2 separate regions of the Homo sapiens genome follow, and region 1 is linked to region 2. Evidence: promoter capture Hi-C in human tissues and cell types (Jung and others, 2019). All regions are on one chromosome and are shown on one strand. The core of a region is centred on a gene start or on the middle of the fragment in contact, and the rest is flanking DNA. Distances in the headings are between cores, read along the strand shown. Region 1 holds the start of IL25 (interleukin 25). Region 2 has its middle 41 kb from the start of ZFHX2.

Region 1 (5,392 bases), core at 923-3,422, 140 kb before region 2:
CTTCTGAAGGGCAACGTTCCTGGTGACCTAGGCTGGGTCCTCCCTGCAGCGTCAGCAAGTGAAACAGGTAGTTGGGATCACTTCTGGCTCCTTTGAACACCCCCTCCTGGGCAAGGGTCAAGATAGGAGATCTGAGCCAACTCCATTTCTACTACCTTCTTAGCCCTGAGGTTCTGATTGGTGAGAGCGAGACCCATAGGTATCCAGCTCTTCTGAAACGGCACTGCCTCCTAAGATCCTGTTCTGGGATTGAGGTTTTCCCAGGAGCACGGGAAGCCACCTTGAGGCCATGTCTGCCAGACAAAAGGCTAGGAAAGGGAGCTAGTGCAGTGAATCCGAACAGCAGGGCTGGATACCTAAGTGGGCAGACACACCCTGTGGCCCTCAGCAGGTGCAGTTGAAACTTGTCCCAACCCAAGCCCAGGTGAGCAGGAAAGCATTCACTGTGGGGCTCCCCTTCCATTCACAGCCAACTAGGGGTAGGCACGGTGTGGCACTTCCATGCCAGGAGGTTACATGTGGAATTGGTCAGAGCTGGAATGGGAAACCAGCTCAGCCTCTTTCTTTGTGATCTTGGGTAAGTTACTAAATTTCCTTGGGCCTCAGTTTCCTCATCTGTAACATGGGGATAATAGTTTCCATGTCATGGTTTCATTGTCGGGATAAAATGAGATGATGCATGCCCAGGGCTTAGCACCATGCCTGGCACATGTAAGTGCACAGGAGCTGAGGCCAGCAGGATATGGAAGGGAGAGGACGTCTGCGAGTACTGGGGGCAGAGGGTGAGGCAGTGAGAGTGGGGCCATGATACTGGCCTCATCACTGTTCCTGAGTGCCCCTGCTTTCCCAGCCACCACCTGCTTCTTCTAAGTGCCCTCCATCCCACAGTTCCAGGTGCCCCAAGACTCATCAGAGCAGAGCAGTTTCTCCCAATTTTCCAGATTGCCCTTTGACTTCATCACTTCTCTCTTTTGGGGCTGCTTTGCCCTAACGCATTGGAAAGATTCCTCTCACTGCAGTTTAAGTTATTCCTGGTTCCCTTTGTTGATTTCCTAGTCCTTGGTTACTAGAGGAGTATTTTCTAAGGGAAAGCACATGCAAATCAAGCCACATCATTCTAGGGGCAATGTCTGTGTATGGGTATGTTGGGTGCGTATGGGGGATGAGGCAGGCCAATAGGCAAGCATGAAGAGAAGGACCTGGGGGGAAGGACACACTGGCCCACTCTCAGCACAGTGTCTCCCAAGCAGGCTGGACCCGGCTGACCTGTGTCTTTGGGGTCAAGCCCAACTGTAAGCCTTTCTGGGGCACACATACACCCTCCTGGCTAACAGTGGCCCATGTTTCTGGACCTGCTGAGGCTGAGTGGGCTCACTTCATGGCCTGAAAGCAGTAGCTGACCCTGTCATGGGCTTGGTCCCCAAGGCTCTGTGAATGAGAGCAGGTTGGTTCCTGGAACTGAGACCTCCTTCCTGTTGGGTCTTAGGTGAGGCTGTTTCAGTTTCCCTCCTCTTCCTTGCTTCACCTTCTCATTTGTGCAATGGGGACACTCACCCACAGCTTCTTCCATCAGACCTTGCCCATCCAGCCAACAAACTTAGGAAGTCAGGGTCTTCCAGCAGCCCTGTGAGGGTAGGCTTGTATCCCCGGTGGGGGGCAGTGACTGGCGAGGGCAAGGGGGAGTTAGGGAGTGGGTCATGGACAATGGGGGAGAAGTCATAGCTGATGGGGGTCATAGAATTTTGGGGTCATTGAAAATGTGGAAGAGGTCAGAGAACAAAGGGGATGGGAGTCAAAGGATGTCTAAGGGAAAGGAAATAATCACGAAGGTGGATGATCAGAGGGACACCTGGGAAGAGGGGAATGGTGAAACCAGACCCTGGATGGGGGGAGCAGGGATCATGGAAACGAGGCCTCTTGAAGGGAGGCCACAAGACATTTCCTAATTTTGGCTACCAAACCAACCAGGGAAATCCCGCTAATGCCAGTTCACAAGAATGCAGAACAGCAGACTGTTATTGCTTTGACCCCATGGCCAGAAAAATTCAAAGAGCAAAGTTTACCCAATCAGCTACCAGGCATATAATGATGGTCATCACAACTTCCATGAGTATTGCATTTTAAGCAGCCTTTGGAAATACTTTCAGAGTTTTTTTGGTTTTGTTTTTTAACCTCAAGTCACTCCCTAAAAAGACAGTGGAAATAAATTTGAATAAACAAAACAGGCTTGCTGAAAATAAAATCAGGACTCCTAACCTGCTCCAGTCAGCCTGCTTCCACGAGGCCTGTCAGTCAGTGCCCCACTTGTGACTGAGTGTGCAGTGCCCAGCATGTACCAGGTCAGTGCAGAGGGCTGCCTGAGGGCTGTGCTGAGAGGGAGAGGAGCAGAGATGCTGCTGAGGGTGGAGGGAGGCCAAGCTGCCAGGTTTGGGGCTGGGGGCCAAGTGGAGTGAGAAACTGGGATCCCAGGGGGAGGGTGCAGATGAGGGAGCGACCCAGATTAGGTGAGGACAGTTCTCTCATTAGCCTTTTCCTACAGGTGGTTGCATTCTTGGCAATGGTCATGGGAACCCACACCTACAGCCACTGGCCCAGCTGCTGCCCCAGCAAAGGGCAGGACACCTCTGAGGAGCTGCTGAGGTGGAGCACTGTGCCTGTGCCTCCCCTAGAGCCTGCTAGGCCCAACCGCCACCCAGAGTCCTGTAGGGCCAGTGAAGATGGACCCCTCAACAGCAGGGCCATCTCCCCCTGGAGATATGAGTGAGTCTGCTGCCCCTCCCGAATGCCTGCCCTGTGTGTGCTGGCCAGGGTATGCGTGAGGGACCAGGGCAATTCCAGCTTACTTTCCCATTTTGATCTCAGAGGGGCTGTAAAGGTTTGGGAGTTAGACAAGGTCTGTATTTGAGTCCTAGCTCTGACTCTCATTGGATGATCTTGAGTCAATTCAAGTTTTCAAAACTCAGGGTTTTTTTTTTTTTCACCTGCAAAATGATATAATGCCCCATAGGCTAATGTGCAGATCAAATGAAATATAATGTATGTAAAAGTCTGTATTTATGTTGGTTCTCTCCTTTTCTTTTAAAACATCCCTATAATGGCCCATGTTTTTTCTGGGTAAAATATTAGGGAATAATGGCATGATACAGGCATGAAGCATCCCAATACCAATTGATACTGCCCTGGCCATGAATGGGTTAGTTATAAGCATACTAAAGGAGTGAAACCCTTAACTTTTGGGGGCAGCTGGCTGGCTGGAGCTGTGGACTGGATATCTTTGATCATGATCATGGGTACTGTATTCTTTCACTCAGTGTGCCACATAAATATTATAGTTCTCTATTTGTGCCATGATATGAAAAATATTAGGAAGTGCTGAAATATGAATGATGAAGCAAAATATTAAAAACTAGGGTCTTAGGGATTCCAGACATGTGATTTCACTTCTTCCTTCTAGTTCTGTCTTAGCATTGGCTTTGGGGGTAGATGGAGAAGTTCAGTGGTGGGGAGGGGGTCAGATCTAACTGAGATTGGATCTAGTGTGGACACTACAGGTCATGACTCTTTGGAGTGGTCTCAGAAGCTGGCTGGGTCCTGGGCCAAATCAGATGGCATGGGAGCTTCTTAGGGGAGGCGGGTGCCAGAGGTTAACTCAGCTGTCTTCCAGACCCCTTGCTGGGAGTCTGTGAACCCGAGAACCACTCAGGTGGCTTTCCCCAAAGTGTGTTCTGTGCAATGCTCATCCCATGAGCTGCTTCTCAGAAAAAAGTGATGCCAGGTAAACTTGGGAAAGACTGCTGTATCTCCTACCCCTTGGAGATTCATACTGTCATTGTACATTAAAGTCTGCAAGAAGTCTGTAGAAAGTAAACCGTTAAACTGGTGTTTCCCAAATTCATTTAAGCACCCAACAGGTGCAGGTGATTTATTAGGGAACCCACTTTGGGAAGTGATGTGCTAGCTAATTCCATTTGCCAGGGCTTGTCTGTGTGGGGAATGGTCCCACAAGCTGGAGACTGTCGCCTGCCAGACTAATGGAGTCGCAGACCTGTGGGACATCTACTTTTCAGTGTTTTTCATCTTTCTTTCTTTCTTTCTTTTTTTTTTTTTGCCATGAAATCCTTTCAGAATAAGTAAATAAGTCTTCCCATGCACTCTCAAGTATGCTTATAATATAAGCTTGCACAGCGTCTGGAAGAATGTGCAGGAAATAGTTGAGGATAGCTTCTTCTGGGGAGTGGGGCTGGTAGGGAGAGACTATTAACTTTCACTCTTTATACTCTTTAATACTTGGATGTCAGAGTGGTTTTTACTTTTGCAATAATGCTATAATAATAATAGAAACACCACCTAAAGTCCGGCCCGGTGGCTCATGCCTGTAATCCCAGCACTTTGGGAGGTCGAGGTGGGTGGATTACCTAAGGTCAGGAGTTCAAGACCAGCCTGGCCAACCATGGCCAACATCATGAAACCCCATCTCTACTAAAAATATGAAAATTAGCTGGGTATGGTGGCGGGCATCAGGAGAATCGCTCGAACCCAGGAGGTAGAGGTTGCAGTTGAGCCAAGATCGTGCCACTGCACTCCAGCTTGGGTACTCCGTCTCAAAAAAACAAAAACAAAAAATCAAAAAACAAACAAAAACACCTAAAGTGTAATCATTACAATAAGAAACCTCATGCTGAGTCAGATAGAAGCAGTGCTGGTCAATGGAGGCTAAGGCAGGAGCCTGCTCACCCTCCCCTGCCTCCCTCACGGTCCCAGGACCAGTTGGAAAGCACTCTGTCACCTGCTACCCTCATTTACAGTGGGGAAAATTTAATAAAGGAGGGAGGTGACTTGTTCAAAGTTACACAGCAAGTGGGTTCAGAACTGAGACAAGAGGCCAAGGCCCCAGACGGACCATTTCCTTCTTCTGGCACTCCCATGCCACCCCACCCTCTCTGTTTCCGGCCCATCTTTCCAAGGCCTGACAAGTGCCGCCCCCACAGGTTGGACAGAGACTTGAACCGGCTCCCCCAGGACCTGTACCACGCCCGTTGCCTGTGCCCGCACTGCGTCAGCCTACAGACAGGCTCCCACATGGACCCCCGGGGCAACTCGGAGCTGCTCTACCACAACCAGACTGTCTTCTACCGGCGGCCATGCCATGGCGAGAAGGGCACCCACAAGGGCTACTGCCTGGAGCGCAGGCTGTACCGTGTTTCCTTAGCTTGTGTGTGTGTGCGGCCCCGTGTGATGGGCTAGCCGGACCTGCTGGAGGCTGGTCCCTTTTTGGGAAACCTGGAGCCAGGTGTACAACCACTTGCCATGAAGGGCCAGGATGCCCAGATGCTTGGCCCCTGTGAAGTGCTGTCTGGAGCAGCAGGATCCCGGGACAGGATGGGGGGCTTTG
Region 2 (5,493 bases), core at 1,878-4,377:
ACATAGAGGAGGGTAAAGGGGTTGGGTTGGGGGTAAGCTACAGTAGGGTGGTCAGGGCCAGGTGCAGTGGCTCACGCCTGTAATTCCAGCAGTTTGGGAGGCCGAGGCGGGTGGATCACCTGAGGTCGGCAGTTCGAGACCAGCCTGACCAACATGGAGAAACCCCATCTCTACTAAAAATACAAAATTAGCCAGGCATGGTGGCTCATGCCTGTAATCCCAGCTGCTGGGGAGGCTGAGGCAGGAGAATCGCTTGAACCGGGGAGGTGGAGGTTGTGGTGAGTTGAGATCGTGCCATTGCACTCCAGCCTAGGCAACAAGAGCAAAACTCTGTCTCAAAAAAAAAAAAAAAAAAAAAAAAAAGAAAAATAGAGTTGTCAGGCTAGGCCTCAGTGAGCAACAAGCAGGTGGAGGACAGGGAGCTTGCCACCCAGTTATCCAGGGACATGCATACCAGGCACAGAGGACAGCTAGTGCAGCGGCCCTAGGTGTGGAGCATATCTAGGTTGAAAGGTTGGAGTAGGCTGGTTCGGGTTGCAGGGGGGATGTAGAAGTGGTGGATGCTGAGGACTTTTCATCTTCCTCAAGGTTTCCTGGCCTTCTCTGTTTTTTCTCCTGCATAGCCTCCCCATCCCCCAAGGGCCACCACTAAGTAGTCTCTCCTGCTTCTTTGCTGCTAATGGTGGGAGGCTTGGAGAGTGGCTGTCAGGCCGAATGATGGTTCCAGAAGACAATATACAGTTTATCAATACTGAATCTTGTAGCTCACCTCTACCATCACTGTTATAGGGAGCCAGCCAGGCTTGGCAATGTTATTTGATAATATAATAATCATCATTTATATTGCAGCTCTGGAGTGCCTCTGCTACTGACAACTGCTCAGTATCTGAGTGTTGGAGAGATAAAACAGGCTCTAGAAGAGAAAGTGAACCAGGATGGAATCTACAACCCTGGCAAACTGAGTATTGGCTTCTCTCACTGACCACTGAGGGGATAATTTATCAAAGATGTCACCCAATGATAAAAGCAGCCCTAAAATGCTTTCTTTAAAAAATGTGTCCTCTGAGAACATTTAGGTTTTGCCTCTAGACTCTGGTTAGGTGAGTGACTTCACTTTGTGCCCCTTTATCCTATGGTTCCTCAGCTAGAGGAGTAGTCAGCAGGTGGGACAGTGAGTCACACTCTGAAATGGCTCTGTCATTCCTGTGCCATAGGCTGTCAGGAGTCTGGGACTTCTACAGGAGGCTTTAGAGAGGGAGGGAGGAGATGGGGTCAGCTGGGACATTGATAGGCTTTCAGAGTTTGGAGGGACCTTATCACCTGGAAATATGGCAAATCAAATTTGTATTTTAAAGCTATTCTGTCTTTGAAATGGTATGGTGAGTTTTCTTGTGAAGAGTCATCACTCTTGTTAAGTTGTTGGGGGGGGTTGTACACTGGGAGCATGGGTATGACGTAGGATGGGACCAACAATAGGACCCAGAAAGTGAAAAAAAATTGGTAATATTCTTATTAAAATGAGCTGGTCTCCACCTATTACCATTGTTCTTCAGCTCCACAAAGGGCCATGCAAGGAAAGGTGGGCTCATTATGGCAGGGGGAGGCCAGTCATCATGAGGGTAGATGTTCTGAAGCTCAAGGAGCTAAAGAACCACTCCTGGTCACTTGACAAGCTTTCCTCAAAGTGGAACCTGCTTCTGTGGGAATAAAATTTAAAATTAAGGTGAGTCATATGTCCCTGCAGGTTTCAGACAGCCTATCCTCTTGAGGACTCTGATAGAGAGGTTAAGTGACCTCAGGGACTCCAGATGCCTAAGTGAGGACAGGAAAAGGGAAGGTTGCTAGGGATGCAGCAGGAGATGTCCCAGGAGACATTTGTAGTTTCTGGACCAGAATGGGATTGAGGAGGTAATAGGAATAGAAGCTTTGTGTTGATGCCAATGGTCTATAGTGAAGGATGTTTTAGAAGAGAGAGCAGAGATGGCTTAGAACTGAAGTTCTGAATCCAAGATATCAGGAACACTGAGGGGAGATTTTGAAAAACACAAACTCCTTCTCCCATCCCCTACCCCTACAGGGATACAGAATAGACTTTCCAGGGGAAGATAGATGCTGCAGGGTTCCAAAGATGGGGTGAAGGCAAAGGGTATAGGTCTGTGATATGATTTCCGCACCCCATGAGCTGGTTTGGTACTTTCCTGTATTACTCCTACATTAGAAAGACAGCCTCACTGCTGTCCCTTTGTTCATGGACTGTTAGGATGCTGCTGACCTGGGTGGGGACGGCTTATCCATCTGCCAGCTTCCAGGTCAGAACCAGCCCTAGTTACTTGATAGGGCTTTCCACAAAGCAGAATACTGCTTCTGTGGGAATAAAATTTAAAATTTAAAATTGAAAATTGAAAGTTAGCTGGGCCTGGTGGTACATAACTGTAGTCTCAGCTACTTGGAGGGCTGAGGTGGGCAGATTGCTTGAGCCCAAGAGTTGGAGGCTGCAGTGAGCTGTGATCATGCCACTGCACTCCAGCCTGAGTGACAGAGCAAGAGCCTACCTCAAAATAAATAAATAAATAAATAAATAAATAAAAATAAAACTTAAAAAGTAAGGCCTCTATGGCCAAATAAGTTTGAGAATTAGTGGGTTAAACATGATCAACCATTTGGGTTTTTTAACCAGCTCCTCAGAGCCTTTAACATACCAGCATACATTGTGAATCTCTTAAAAGAGGGAATATGCAGTATTTCTCAAACTAATTTGATTGGGGGGTCCTTTTTTTCTTGAGGAGCATTTCATCAGATTAATGTTTCACAGAGCACACCCAGGAAGAAGTTTCACTATACTGGCATCTCTCTCCTTTTTAAAAAAATAACAACTCAAAGTTAGATAGCCCTTACTGACTTATTCCTAAATTCCTGACTTTTGAGGTAGGTAAGAGTACACACTTTTCCTACTCTGGAACTGCAAAGGCAGGCAGTGTTATGTTGTGGTCTTCCTAAGGCAGTCTTACAGGCACTGTCAGCGATTCTCTGCTATTAATAATTCCCATTGATTTGATACCCTCACATTTCCCTATATTGATCTCCCATGTCTCCCTGCAGCAGATGTTCCTAGAATGCTCCTTCCCCTTGACAGAGAGGTAGACAAGGGCAAGTCAACAGGGACCCCTCTGAGCCCAGAGTGTTCTCTTGGTGACCTGGTCTGAGGGTCAGTGTGGCTGAATTGACAAATAGTAGCTGTTGACTCCCTGGTTTGGGGTTGGTTTTCTATAGGAGAAGCAACTGTTGGAGTCAGCTGCCTGAGGAATATACTTCTCTAGGCTGGGGTGGGGAAATGAGCTTGAAGACAAGGAACTGGCTGAGTCTTAATTTGGGTAAGAAGGCTCGGTGGCGCTCACTTGGACTGCAGTTTTATACCCCATTTTCCATGTCTATTCTCCTCCTTCCCCCGCCCCAACCTGTCCATCACCACTCAGCTCTCTTCCTCCTTCATCCTTCTTTTGGGTTCTCTTTCCCTCCCCGCTGTTCTTCTAAGAAGACTGGCTCTCCTTCCTCCTCCCCCATCCCAATCTCTACTTCTCTTCACATCCCCTCTGCACCCCCAGCCTGGCAGCCTGCCCTGTAGGAATGTTAATTAGCATCCACGATTTAATTAATTCAGTAGCTAATTAATGATTGGGGACTGGGGGCTGGGGAGCTGGGGTGCAGGGGGTTGGGGGCTGGAGGTGACAGGGAGAAATAGCAGAGGTTGCAGAAGGCATCGCAGATGGCTGTGCGGTGGCTGGCACAGTGCCCACCGCCATGGATGCAAACACACTTGCGCGCACGCACACGTATACACACACACACAAAAAGGAAAGGGTGATCGAGGAATCAAAAGCAGGCAGGGAAGGGCACAGGGGCCCTGGGAACTGGGGCTGTGCGGCTGGGGGTGGGGAAGGCTCTAGATCTATTTGAATCTGCTCCGGAAGTAGAAGAGGAGAAAAAAAAGAAACAACCACAGGCGCAGAGAGAAGCGAGCTCTCCCGATACCCCACCTCACCCCACCCCCACCCCACCCCAGCCACCCCTCCTCCCTGGCATGGGATTCATGGGCACCAGCTGAGAACGGGGTCCCCTCCCTCTGCCTGCCATAAATATTGGTACTGAGGACCCAGACTCAGAAGGATAGGATATTCCCAAAGAAAAGAGTTTTTCTTTTAAGTTGCTTTAAAAAATATATATGTGTGTGTGTGTGTGTGTATATATATATGCATATATATGTATATATGCATATATATATATATATTTTAAATTGCACCCGTTCTGGTGTGAGGGCGAAGGCGAGTGAAAGAAGGTGACTGAGCCAGGAGGAGAGCACAGATGGCTTGGTGGTGGTATGGTGTGGTGAGTTGTGGGGAGGAAAAGAGGGGGGTCTGGCAGAGGTTGGGGGTGGGTGGAATGAGGACCCTGTTTTCCTCTTTTCGTATTGCTGTGGATGAAGGAGAGAGAGAGAAAAAGAGAGAAAGTGGGTGGGGAGAGAAGCGAGACAGATGGCAGAGTGGAGAGGCAGCAGCCAGTGCCGGCACTGCCCAGCCTGGGCGGACCCAGCTCCCTCCGCCTGCCAGCTCTCCAAATGCCACCCTTCCCCCATCCTCCCCTCTCCCCATCCCCCCAGCTTGGCACTGATCTCGGGGAGAGAGAGGGAGGGAGGCTGGGCAAAGAGCATCTGTTCCCTCCATTCTCCCAGCTCCATCGGCTGCCAACCTAGGGCCATCGTCTGCCTCCATCACCCCTCCGCCCGCCCGCCTACCCACCCAATCCCAAACGGGTGCTGGATCAGGTGCTGAATCCGGCTGCCTCCTCGGGTACCAGTCACTGTGCATTGCTGTGTGTCTGCCACCGCTGCCTGGCACTCATGGGGCCGTGTGTGTGTGTATGTGTGTGTGCGCGCATGTACATGTACGCATAAGCGTGTGCTGTATGTGAGCCTCCTGGGCATGGGTGGGGGTTGGCATTGCGGTTGCCAATCTAGTGTACAACCAGAAGGACAGAGGGATGGAGTGGAAGAAGGAGGGGAGAGGCTTGGGGTCTGGGAGGGGAGAAGAGGGTGCATGAGTTGCTTCATGCTGCCTGCTTACAGGCATTGGCATTGTAGCTGCCACCCTTGTGCCCACGGAGATGGGAGGAGGCGAGTGGAGGGCGCAGCGGCAGGAGTCCTGTGCTCTGGGAGGAAGGCTTTGTACATGGGAGCTGTTGGCATCACATCTGTCAGGCCGGTGCCCAGAACTGGGGCAATGGAGACTGGGGGATCCAGGAAGCAGGGAGGAGGGGCAGAATGTGTTTCTGATGTTGCTGTCCCTCTAGAAGCTCAGCTCTGAAAAATGGTTGGAGTATGAGGTGATTAGTGCTCTTCCAGCTTGAGGAAGTAAAGTGGTGGAGAGAGTAGCCAGGGAAGTGCCAAGAAACAGTCTACGAGCCAGGGAGGAGGGAGTGTGCCACCGTACCCAGGGAGAA

What was found. Contacts are between HindIII fragments. The study calls those that stand out against the background at their distance.
Region 1: a contact is called between the fragment with the promoter of IL25 here and a fragment that was not itself captured in region 2, in 1 of the 25 tissues and cell types used here (hippocampus).

The regions. Positions count from the first base shown.
Region 1 is chr14:23,370,637-23,376,028 of GRCh38, forward strand. IL25 (interleukin 25) reads left to right here and starts at 2,173. Exons shown (of 3, transcript NM_172314.2): 1 at 2,173-2,339; 2 at 2,540-2,760; 3 at 4,989-5,392. The coding sequence starts at 2,331. The coding sequence ends at 5,244. The HindIII fragment of the contact is 4,168 bases long and covers 1,421-5,392 here.
Region 2 is chr14:23,508,491-23,513,983 of GRCh38, forward strand. It overlaps a transcript of THTPA not described here. Among named protein-coding and RNA genes, the nearest start is that of ZFHX2, 41 kb to the right of the region's middle. The HindIII fragment of the contact is 5,147 bases long and covers 555-5,493 here.